Regions from separate parts of the Homo sapiens genome. Here all the other regions are linked to region 1. The links are contacts of gene promoters, found by promoter capture Hi-C in human tissues and cell types (Jung and others, 2019). All regions are on one chromosome and are shown on one strand. The core of a region is centred on a gene start or on the middle of the fragment in contact, and the rest is flanking DNA. Distances in the headings are between cores, read along the strand shown. Region 1 holds the start of DLGAP1 (DLG associated protein 1). Region 2 has its middle 270 kb from the start of DLGAP1. Region 3 overlaps DLGAP1 (DLG associated protein 1).

Evidence for each region. The method cuts DNA at HindIII sites, captures the fragments that hold promoters and counts their contacts. A contact is called where the count stands out against the background at its distance.
Region 2: a contact is called between a fragment that was not itself captured here and the fragment with the promoter of DLGAP1 in region 1, in 1 of the 25 tissues and cell types used here (H1 embryonic stem cells).
Region 3: a fragment that was not itself captured here is called in contact with the fragment with the promoter of DLGAP1 in region 1 in 1 of the 25 tissues and cell types used here (dorsolateral prefrontal cortex).

Annotation. Positions count from the first base shown.
Region 1 is chr18:4,453,246-4,456,815 of GRCh38, forward strand. It overlaps DLGAP1 (DLG associated protein 1), which reads right to left and starts at 2,062. Exons shown (of 13, transcript NM_004746.4): 1 at 1,761-2,062. RefSeq lists a silencer at 2,082-2,211. The HindIII fragment of the contact is 8,504 bases long and covers 1-3,456 here.
Region 2 is chr18:4,724,010-4,727,547 of GRCh38, forward strand. No RefSeq gene overlaps it. Among named protein-coding and RNA genes, the nearest start is that of DLGAP1, 270 kb to the left of the region's middle. The HindIII fragment of the contact is 3,072 bases long and covers 91-3,162 here.
Region 3 is chr18:4,130,177-4,133,302 of GRCh38, forward strand. All of the region lies in intron 2 of DLGAP1 (DLG associated protein 1), which reads right to left. Among named protein-coding and RNA genes, the nearest start is that of DLGAP1-AS5, 130 kb to the right of the region's middle. The HindIII fragment of the contact is 4,071 bases long and covers 1-3,126 here.

The sequences.
Region 1 (3,570 bases), core at 812-3,311:
TTTTCTGAACCAAGGGTAGCGTTTATAACTTAAACTTTTTAAAATCATACATTTTGCATAGACATATTCATTATTTCTTTATAGGCTTGAATTTCCTTTTAAAAACTTAAAGAAAACTTTATATTCTTCTGGCATGAAATAAATTAGGATCTTGTAAAATTTCTTGCCTCCATGTCATTTCCGTTCAAGTTTTATTCAAGGAATAAAAAGTATTGCTTTATATGCAAAATGACCTAGGCCAATAGAAAGTCGTTTCCTGAACTGAAATCGTGCTATAAATAACAGTCAAAGGGCTGTTCTTTTTAGAACAGCTCTTTCAGGGTAAAAAATAATTTGCAGGATGTTTGCCTTAGGACCTAAAATCGCTTTCCTAGTTCTCAGCATTTCTCATCTCCATGTCTAACCACATCTTAGACTGATCTATCCTCACCTTCTACGAAGCCATTCACGAAGACCACAAAAGCTAAAAGATCTGTCTTTAATTGGTACTTTTATTATATGTCTTTCCTCGTAATTCCCTAACTTCACGTGTTATGGAAGGAGGCAGGGAGCATTCACCTCCCACGACCGGGAGTCAGTCTCTGTGTCAGGAGTAAGGAGTGAAGAGTCTCGCCTGGATCCACAAAAGACGTGACATCTCCCACCCAGCGTCCCACTGCTTGCCGCCTGGCTACCTTTAACCCCTTGCCCTCCGCACATCCTCCCCTTCTCTAGCAGAAAATTCCGCAGCGCTACGGTCGGGCTGGAGGCAAGCCCTGCAGCCGGGGGCGAGCGCGGCACTCGGACACAGGCACTCAGTGTCTCCGGCGCCGGCAGCCGAGCCACGGGCCACCCCTTCCCACGGCCTCCCGGTGCCACCCAGCGAGGCCGGGACAGCGCGCCTTCCGCAAAAAGCGCAGCAGCCGAAGTCCTGAAAGCAGGGTCTTCATCGCCGCGGGCCCTCCGAAGGTGCCTCTCCCAGCTGCAGCCGCCCCTCAATGAAAGTGCAATGTGTTATCTCGCCCAGCCCAGAGGAGAGGTCCCTGTTTGGCCTTGGTTCCAGCCCGGCTCATTCAATTCGCTGAATGTCGGGTCTCCCGGCCCGCCCCGCGATTCTCCGGGAATTGGCCTTGGCCGCGGGCAGGGGGCGACTCTCCAGTGACCTCCTCCTTGGACCCCATTTCTCTCTCTCTCTCTCTCTCTGTGCCTGTCTTTGTGTCTCTGTTTCTTTGGCTTTCTCTTACAAACGCACGGGGGAGTTGGTCCTTTTCCACAATGCCAAAATGTCACCCAAAAAGCTAGTGCAACAACTTGCTTTGCAAACGACCCAGGAGCCTGCCGAGAAAGCCCTGCGGGGAGCAGCCCCCTCCTCCCCTGCAAGGTGCATCGGGGGTGGGGTGGGGGTGCGAATTTGACCGGTGGACATGACCGGGACAGGGGACCGGTGTTCTCCTCCCCTCCCCCTTCCGGGACCCTGTCGCAATTAGAAATCCTTCCCCTGCCTGGGTCCCCGTGGGGAGCCGCGAGGACCGCATGGCCGGAGAGGACGCGCTCGCCCCCGAGATCCCAGGTTACCCGGAGGGCCCGGGAGTGCACCCCGGGCGGCTGAAAGGGTAAGGAGCGCGGACTCTCGAGCCAGCGGCCGGGGGAGCCCAGCCCGCAGCCCCTCCGCGGGCGAGGGAAGCGGCGACCGCGCGGCAGGCAGCAGCCAGGAGCCACCCAGCGCGCCGCGACCGCCGCCGCCGCGCACGCCCCAGCCCCGCGGCGCAGCCCGGCGTTACCTGGCCGCGTCCCGCAGTCCGGCCCTCGCTGGCTGCGTCCGTCCGTTGGTCCCACGAGCCTCGGAGGAAGGAGAGAGATGTCCCCGCGACCAGGACCGGCTCTCAGCGAGGTGACGGGAAGGACTCGAGAGAGGAGCCGAGGCGGCGGCGGCCGTTCGCGCCGCCTATGCTGCCGATTCCCCGAGGCGGAAGGTGTCCGCGAGGCCGTGTCCTGGAGATTGCGGCGCCCGAAGCGCAGCGCTCGCCTCTGGAGCGGAGGCTGAGCGCCGGGACGCGGCGGGCTGGGGCTGCAAGGCTGGGCTGGTGACCCGCCCCTGGGTGCATGTTAATACGGTGGGGAGGAGGAGTCCCGCGCTTCCTCCGCCCAACCACCGGAGCCGGCGGGCGGGCGGCGGCCGCGGCCCGGAGCCAGCCGCTCCCACCCGCCCCAGCTACTACGGCGCGGCGCGACCGCGGGCTCCGGCCCCAGCCCAGGCACGTGCGCCCAGGCCGCGGGGAGGCGCCGGCGCCTCCCGGAACGCGCTCCTGGCCTGCGAGTGCTGCCCGCTCAGTCTCCGGGTGGGAAGTGCGCTCGCCCCGGACCGAGGGGAAAGCCCAACATCCCCGGGATGGAACAGAGAGGCGGCCACCCGTGAGTGGGCGTGACCCATTGGTTCCCTTGCGCAGCATCTGTGGAGAATTAAGCTTTCCCCTCCTCTCTTGCCAGCCGTTGTTCCTAATCTTGTCTTTTTTAAGGGAGGAAAGCAGGAGAACTCATGACACTTTGTATCACAGGAAATCAAGTTGGTGGACAGAGGGTTTGCTGACCTCTCCCGTCCCTCCTCAGGGTCCCTAGGAGAATTTTTGAAGAAGTAATCGGCAGCAAGGAGATGGGGGCAATAGAGAGTCTCAGACTCGCAGGGACCCATGTTCGTCCCCAGCGCCACTACTTTCAAACCGTTATCCCTCAGAGCTGTTTCCTCACCTCCACAACAACTCTCCCGGGTTCGATGACACTATATATCCCACCAGTTCATCTTGGTACAGGCCAAAAGGTAATTCAAAAAGCGAAACGAATCTCATCTCCTGACCTGTGCCCTCGGTAAAGTCCCCAGGTTCCACCCCAAGTACACTTGGAAGCCAGGCCCCTCCACACAGGCTGAGCACCACGCTTCCACAAACTGAAAACAGAGAGAATCCACTTGGTTTCAAAGTTAGAATAGGGATAGCGGCGTGAGTGGGTGAATTGCGATGTGGGTCAAGGAGAGAAAAAAGTAAATCAATTAAGTATTTATTGAGCTCCTGCGCTGCCCACTTAATTGCAAACGTTACAGTAGTTAAAATAATCGTGGTTAATCACTGCCTTATTATTTCCTTCTATTAAAAAAAGAAATGGCATCTTCATGGAGAATGTCCTTTGTTCTACAGCTTCCTGAGGGAATATTATGCCAAAAAGTACATAATCTTTATGTAATTTTATCCAGAAGTTATAGCATAAGATTTAGCATCTGTTTTGTGTGATGTCTAATTATAAATATTAATAGAATATCCTTTTAAAGACAACACTTCTAAAAATGCAAGGAAGTGAAAAACAGTTTTCATAAAAATATGACTCAGATAAATAACCTCTTTCCTGCAATTTCACTGAGTGATTTTCCATTAAAGAAAATAACAATTACTGAAACCACTAAATGGAGGTAAATTCTCAGCATTGTAATATCATGAGCACCGACGCTTTAGCAATGATCTAAAAGATATTCTCAGACAATTCAAGAATTACTATAGGGGCCCAGCTCAGTGGCTCACACCTCTAATCCTGGCACTTTGGGAG
Region 2 (3,538 bases), core at 377-2,876, 270 kb after region 1:
GAAACTATAGCAAAGGTCTGAAAGATGAGTCAGTGCATTTTTATTACCTAGGTAAAGGAATCTGGGACAAGGGTGTTATGGACAGATGAAAGACCAGATATTAAACACCATGAAGGTTAAACCTTCAAGGAACTAAAAAAAGTTCAATGTAGTTGTGATCTAAAAAGCAAAGTGAGACAGGGCTGTAGAGGAATGAAGGGGGTGATCACGCAGGCTACTATTCATCTTAAAGATATGGACTTTATCCTAAAAGCAATGGGGAATCATTATAATATGTTAGGCAGAGCAGTGACAAGACAGGATTGTGCTTTTTAAAATAAGACTGAAGAGACAATCTCAATAAGCCTGTAGTTAGTAAAGAAATTAAATCAGTAATTAATAACCCCAAAACACAAAAAGCACCAGGCCCAGAATAATTTACTGGCAAATTCTATCAAACATTTAGAGAAGAAATAATACCAGTTCTCTATAATGTCTTCCAGAAGATAGAAGCAGAGGAAATATTTCATAACTCTTTCTATGAGGCCAGCATTGCTCTAATACTAAAACCAAACAAAGACATTACAAGAAAAGAAAACTACAGGCCAATATTTATCATGAACGTAGAGGCAAAAATCTTCAACAAAATACTAGCAAATTAAATCCAGCAATACATTAGAAGAATTATACATTACGACCATGTCAGATTTATCTCAGTTATGCAAGACTGGTTTAACATTCAAAAATCAATTCAATCTATCATATCAACAAGCTAAAGAAGAAAAATTACATGATCATATGAATAGCTGCAGAAAAAAAACCCTGGACAAACTCCAACGCCTATTCATGATAAAATCTCTCAGAAATTTGTGAATAGAACCATGAAAGGAAAATAAATCTTGGGGCCCCAAATCACTAAGCTAAAGGGAAAAGTCAGGATAGGAACTGCTTAGGGCAAACCTGCCTCCCATTCTATTCAGTCACCCCTCTGCTCACTGAGATAAATGTGTATCTTATTGCCATCTTTGGAGAAGTTAATCAGAAACTGAAAAGAATGCAACCATTTTTCTCTTATCTACCTATGACCTGGAAGCCTCTCCCTGCTTCCAGTTGTCCTGCCTTTGCTTTGAGTTGTCCCGCCTTTCTGGACTGAACCAACGTTTATTTTACATATGTTGATTGATGTGTGATGTCTCCCTGAAATGTATAAAACCAAAATGTGCTCTGACCACCTTGAGCACATGTCGTCAGGACCTCCTAAGGCTGTGTCACAGATGCACATCCTCAACCTTGGCAAAATAAACTTTCTAAATTAAATATTTGTCTCGGATATTCAGGGTTCACAGAGGGAAGCTTTCTCAACATGATAAAGAACATCTACAAAAACTCTACAGCTAACATCATACATAATGGTGAGAAATTAGAAGCTTTCCTTCTAAGATCAGAAACAACATAAGGATGTCCCCTCTCATCACGTCTTTTCAATATCATAGCAGAAGTCCTAGTTAATGTAATGACAAAAGAAAAGGAAATAAGAGGTATGCTGATTGAGAAAAAGAAATAAAACTGTCTCTCCTTGCTGATGTCATAACTGTCTGCACAGAACATCCAAAAGAATAAAAAAAAATTCCTGGAACTAATAAGCAATTATAGCAAGATTGTAGAATACAAAATTAACATAAAAAAGTTAATTTTCTTTATACCAGCAACAAACAAGTGGAATTTGAAATTAAAATCACAATACCATTTACATTATCGCTCCCTCTAAAGTAAAATATTGTTATAAATCTAACAAAGTATGTGCAAGATCTATATAAAGTAAACTACAAAACTCTGATGAAAGAAATCAAAGAACTAAATAAAGAAATAGTCCATGTTCATGAAGAGGAAGCCTCAATATTTTCAAGATGTCAGTTTTTCCCAACTTGATAAACAGGTTCAAGAAAATCACAAACAAAATCCTAGCAAATTATTTTTTGGATATCCACAAAGTTGTTCTAAAGCAAACAAGGAGAGAGGTAAAAGAATAGAATAGCTAATGTAATCCTGAACGAGAAGAACAAAGTTGAAAACCTGACACTACCTGACTAAAAGCTACAGTAATCAAGACAATGTGGTGTTAGTGGAAAAATAGACAAATAGATCCAAGGAACAGCATAGACAGCCCAGAAACAGACACACAGAAATATCAACTTATCTTTGACGAAGGAACAAAGACAATACAATGGACAAAATATAGTCTTTTCAACAAGTGATTCTGGAACGCACATACAAAAAACAAAATCTGGGGACACAGACTCATATCCTTCACAAAATTAACTCAAAAGAAATCAAAGTGCCAAATGTAAAATTCAAAACTATGAAACTCCTAGAAGATAACATAGGAGAAAATCTAGATGACTTTGGGTATGGCAATGATGTTTCGATACAACACCAAAGATGTATGCCATAGAATAAATATAGTCCTGACCTTAATGAAATAAACAACCTCTGCTTTGCAAAAGACACTGTCAGGAGAATGAGGAGACAAGCCATAGACTAGGAGAAAACATTTGTAAAAGAATTATCTGATAAAAGACTGTTATCCAAAATACACAAAGAACTCTAAAAACAATAAGAAAACTAACAGCCTGATTTAAAAATGGGCAAAAAAAACTTGAACAGACATCTCATCAAAGAAGATATACATGTGGCAAATAACCATATGAGAAGTTGTTCCACATTATATGACATTAGTGATATGCAAATTAGAGCAACAGTGAATTACCACTACACACCTATAAGAACTGCTCAAATCCAAAACACTGACAACACAAAATGCTGGTGAGGATGTAGAGCAACAGAAGTTCTCATCCATTGTTGGTGGGAATGCATAATGGTACAGCCACTTTGGAAGACAGTTTGGCAGTTTCTTACAAAAAAAACAAAAACAAACAAACAAAAAAAAGCATGATTTTCCTATACAATCCAGTGATCATACTCTTTGATATAAACCCAAATGGGTTGAAAAATTAAGTCCAGGCCAGGCGCGGTGGCTCACGCCTGTAATGCCAGCACTTTGGGAGGCCAAGGCAGGTGGATCACAAGGTCAGGAGTTCAACACCAGCCTGGCCAAGATGGTGAAACCCCACCTCTACTAAAAAATACAAAAAATTAGCCGGGTGTGGTGGCGGGTGCCTGTAATCCCAGCTACTTGGGAGGCTGAGGCAGAGAAGTGCTTGAACCCAGGAGGCGGAGGTTGCAGTGAGCTGAGACTGCGCCACTGCACTCTAGCCTGGGCCACGGAGTGAGACTCTGTCTCAAAAATAAATAAATAAATAAATAAAAATTAAGTCCAAACAAAAACTTTCACAATATGGTTCTAGCATCTTTATTCATAATTGCCAACACTTGAAGGCAATCAAGTAGTTCCTCAGGAGGTGAACTGGTAAATAAACTGTGGTATATGCAGACAATGGAATATTATTCAGTGATAAAGAGAAATAAGCTATCCAACCATGAAAAGACTTGGAAGAATCTTAAATGCATATTACTAAGTAAAAGAAGCCAATCTGAGAAG
Region 3 (3,126 bases), core at 219-2,718, 320 kb before region 1:
GAGTAAAAGTTTCATGTACTCTAACAAAACCTTTTCAGTTATACAGACAGGTAACTATCTCCTATTTCCCAAATTTTCAGAATGAGTAAATTCCAGAGGCACTGATGATACCAATATACTCATATTACCTCAAGTGAAGAAAGAAAGGAACACACGAACACAGATAGTACCTGGAATAGTGATTATTTAATAGTAAGTGATGGATTAGTAAGTGAATGTGTAAGTGACATCAGCAAAATTGAGTGAAGATCCCAGTGACATCTAGATGTGATTAGAAACTCTTACCATTTCAACACTTGTAAGTTCAGGACATTCATTTATTTTATATTTATTTATTGAATCACTTGTCATTTATGTGCCACTTTCTGTTTTCTAAATGCTTTACAATATTAGAATCTAGGAAGACAGTGGTGAGGAAGACAGATTCAGTCCTTGTTCTTGTGAAGTTTACATTCCAGTAGAAGGGGCAGGACCACACCCTCCCATCGCACACACATACACACAGAACATGAACACGGACCACAAGAGAGCGGCACATTGCGACTAATGTCAGGGTCATCACAGAGAAAGAGCCGAGGGAGCCGTTACAGGTAAGGGAAGGCTGTTCTGAGAAGGTGACATTTTGGCAAAGATCTTTTAATGGAGGACAGAGGAGGCAGGAAAACAACCAGAGAATGCCTAGCAAGAAGTTGGCCTGTTGCAAAAACTGTGAGAAAATCATCCACTCTGATTGGCGAGGATGTGGCCAGCAGGGGGAATTGCAGGAAAATATGACAAGGATTTACCCAAGAAGGGACTATTTGCATATAATTGTATTAAAAAAACCAGAGCCATAAACACATGTAATATTGATAAACAATGTCTTTTATGATCACAAACAGCATTACAGTGTCTTTTTTTTCAGAAATATATTATGCAACTATTTATATCCCAAGATAACTGCAGACATTCAGACATTCACAGAAAGAAACAAAGACCGTTATTGTCTCCAGTTTATGAGCTTCAGGAAAAAAACGTGGGCGTGTGTGTGTGTGTGCGTGCAAGCACGTGTAAGAGAGAGAGCAAGAACAGTTAATTACTAAACATTAGAAGAAAGTCAAACCATGTGTGGGCTCATGTCATTCAGGCCATCACAATCATTTTATTCCACATGACAAATGGAATAAGAAATAGTGATATTTAAAAGTAAAACATGCGAAGAACTGTAATACTTTAAAGCACAGGTTAGAAAGCTTTTTCTCAAAGGGCCAGAGAGTAAATGGCTCTAAGGGCCATACTTCCTCTGTTGCCAGTACCCTACTTGGCTTTTCTAGAACAAAAGCAGCCACAGACAATACATAAGAGAACAGGTGTGGCTGTGTCTCAGTAAAGCTTTATTTACAGTAACAGGAGATGGGCCAGATTTGATCCACGAGATGAGGTCCGCTGACTCCTGCTTTAGAGGACTAGAGGACAATGCTCAATAATATCTAGAAGAATCACTCCAAAATATCAAGCCAATTTCTCAAACGTGGGCAAGAGAAAGAGCCAGGAAAGGGTGACAAGAAACTGCTGGATTGGATTAGCTAGAGGTTATCGTATTTTACTAGCCATAGGCACAAATTTAAGTGATAGCGTAAAGAAATCTATAACTGTTTCTATTGACTGTGCAAATGTTAAAAGAACATTGTCAAAGATCTTATTTTTAAAATGTTGTATGAATGCTTCTGGCATGAGGTACGCAGCTGGCACAGATGATTCCAAAGTTCCCATCCAACTCTAAAATTCTAAGTTTCCAAAATTTAAATTATAATACAATTACTAGTATCTGGCAGAATTTCAAAAGCGGTTGAAATGGTGTTTTATGACTTTTTTTTTTCCTGGCTTAACATTTTTGTAAATTCTAGAATGCTAATTCTTGAAGCTTGGCAGCTAAAACAATAATTGACTATTTCCTAGTCACTTTGCAATTGGTTTCTTTTAATTGAGGATGAATTGGTACAGCATGTAAAATCTGAAAACTAAAAATGGATGCTTTAGACAATTCATTCTTTTCACTGAAATGATTCAACCATACTAAGCCATATATCTACTTTTATATATCATTTAGTGAAGACCCTGACTAAGCACTCACATTGTATAATCACTAAGTACACATTCATTGACCATCTATTACAGGGTAAATTCATGATTGGCCTATATTAGGGCATAAAACGCTTATTAATTGAGTGAATGAACATAAACTCTAAACTATGGTGTCTATGGGTTCAAATTATAGCTCTGCCACTTTCTAGCTGTGTGACCCTAGGGGAAATTACTTAACCTTTCTGTGTCTTTCTTGGTCATTGGTAAAATGGGGAGAAAATAATACCTATATTATAAGGTATTGTGAGAATAAAAGTTGACAACCCTATTTCCACCTGCACTTTCATTCTGCCAGGTACAATAGTTGTCTAACATATAAGCATCATATCATCCTACAAAAGAAATGGTCTTCCAAGAGAGCCTGGTGTCCTGCTGATTTCTGGCAAAAGAGTTCCCACTTAAAATTCTACTCTAAAGTATCGTATTCAAAATGAAAAGAGGAAAACAACAGAAAATGAAAATCTGTTAAAGGAATCAAGTAATTTCATTTGCTGCGTGCCATACATGTTGCTGGGTATTACGAAAGCTTCAAAAGCATAATTCCTGTTATCCAGGAGCTTTAATAAAATAAAACATACTAACAGGTAAAGGTAATTAAATGTACTTGTTACACATTTATTGAGCATTTGCAAGTTACCAGCATTGGTAATGCAAGGATACTTCAGATACAATCTAGAGAGGCAAGTCACATCAACTCTGTGAGACTTACTTTCTTCATCTTTGAAATGGGGGTAGAACTGTTTCAGCAAGATTTTGTGAGAATCACTGCACAACGGGCTGCAACATGACAGGCTTGCAACACCCTAAGCGCTTTGAGTAGAGGCTGCATGAGTGTGGAGGAGAGACTCAGCCTCCCCCAGGAAGGTGACAATAGAGAAGTGCCTTGAAGGAGGTTTGGGAGACAGAGAAATCCAGTAAGAACATGCCATGAGGAGAGCACAGCACATGCTAAGTCAAGGGCTTCCAACAGGGCTCATGAGTGCCAACGATTCACTGCCCCAA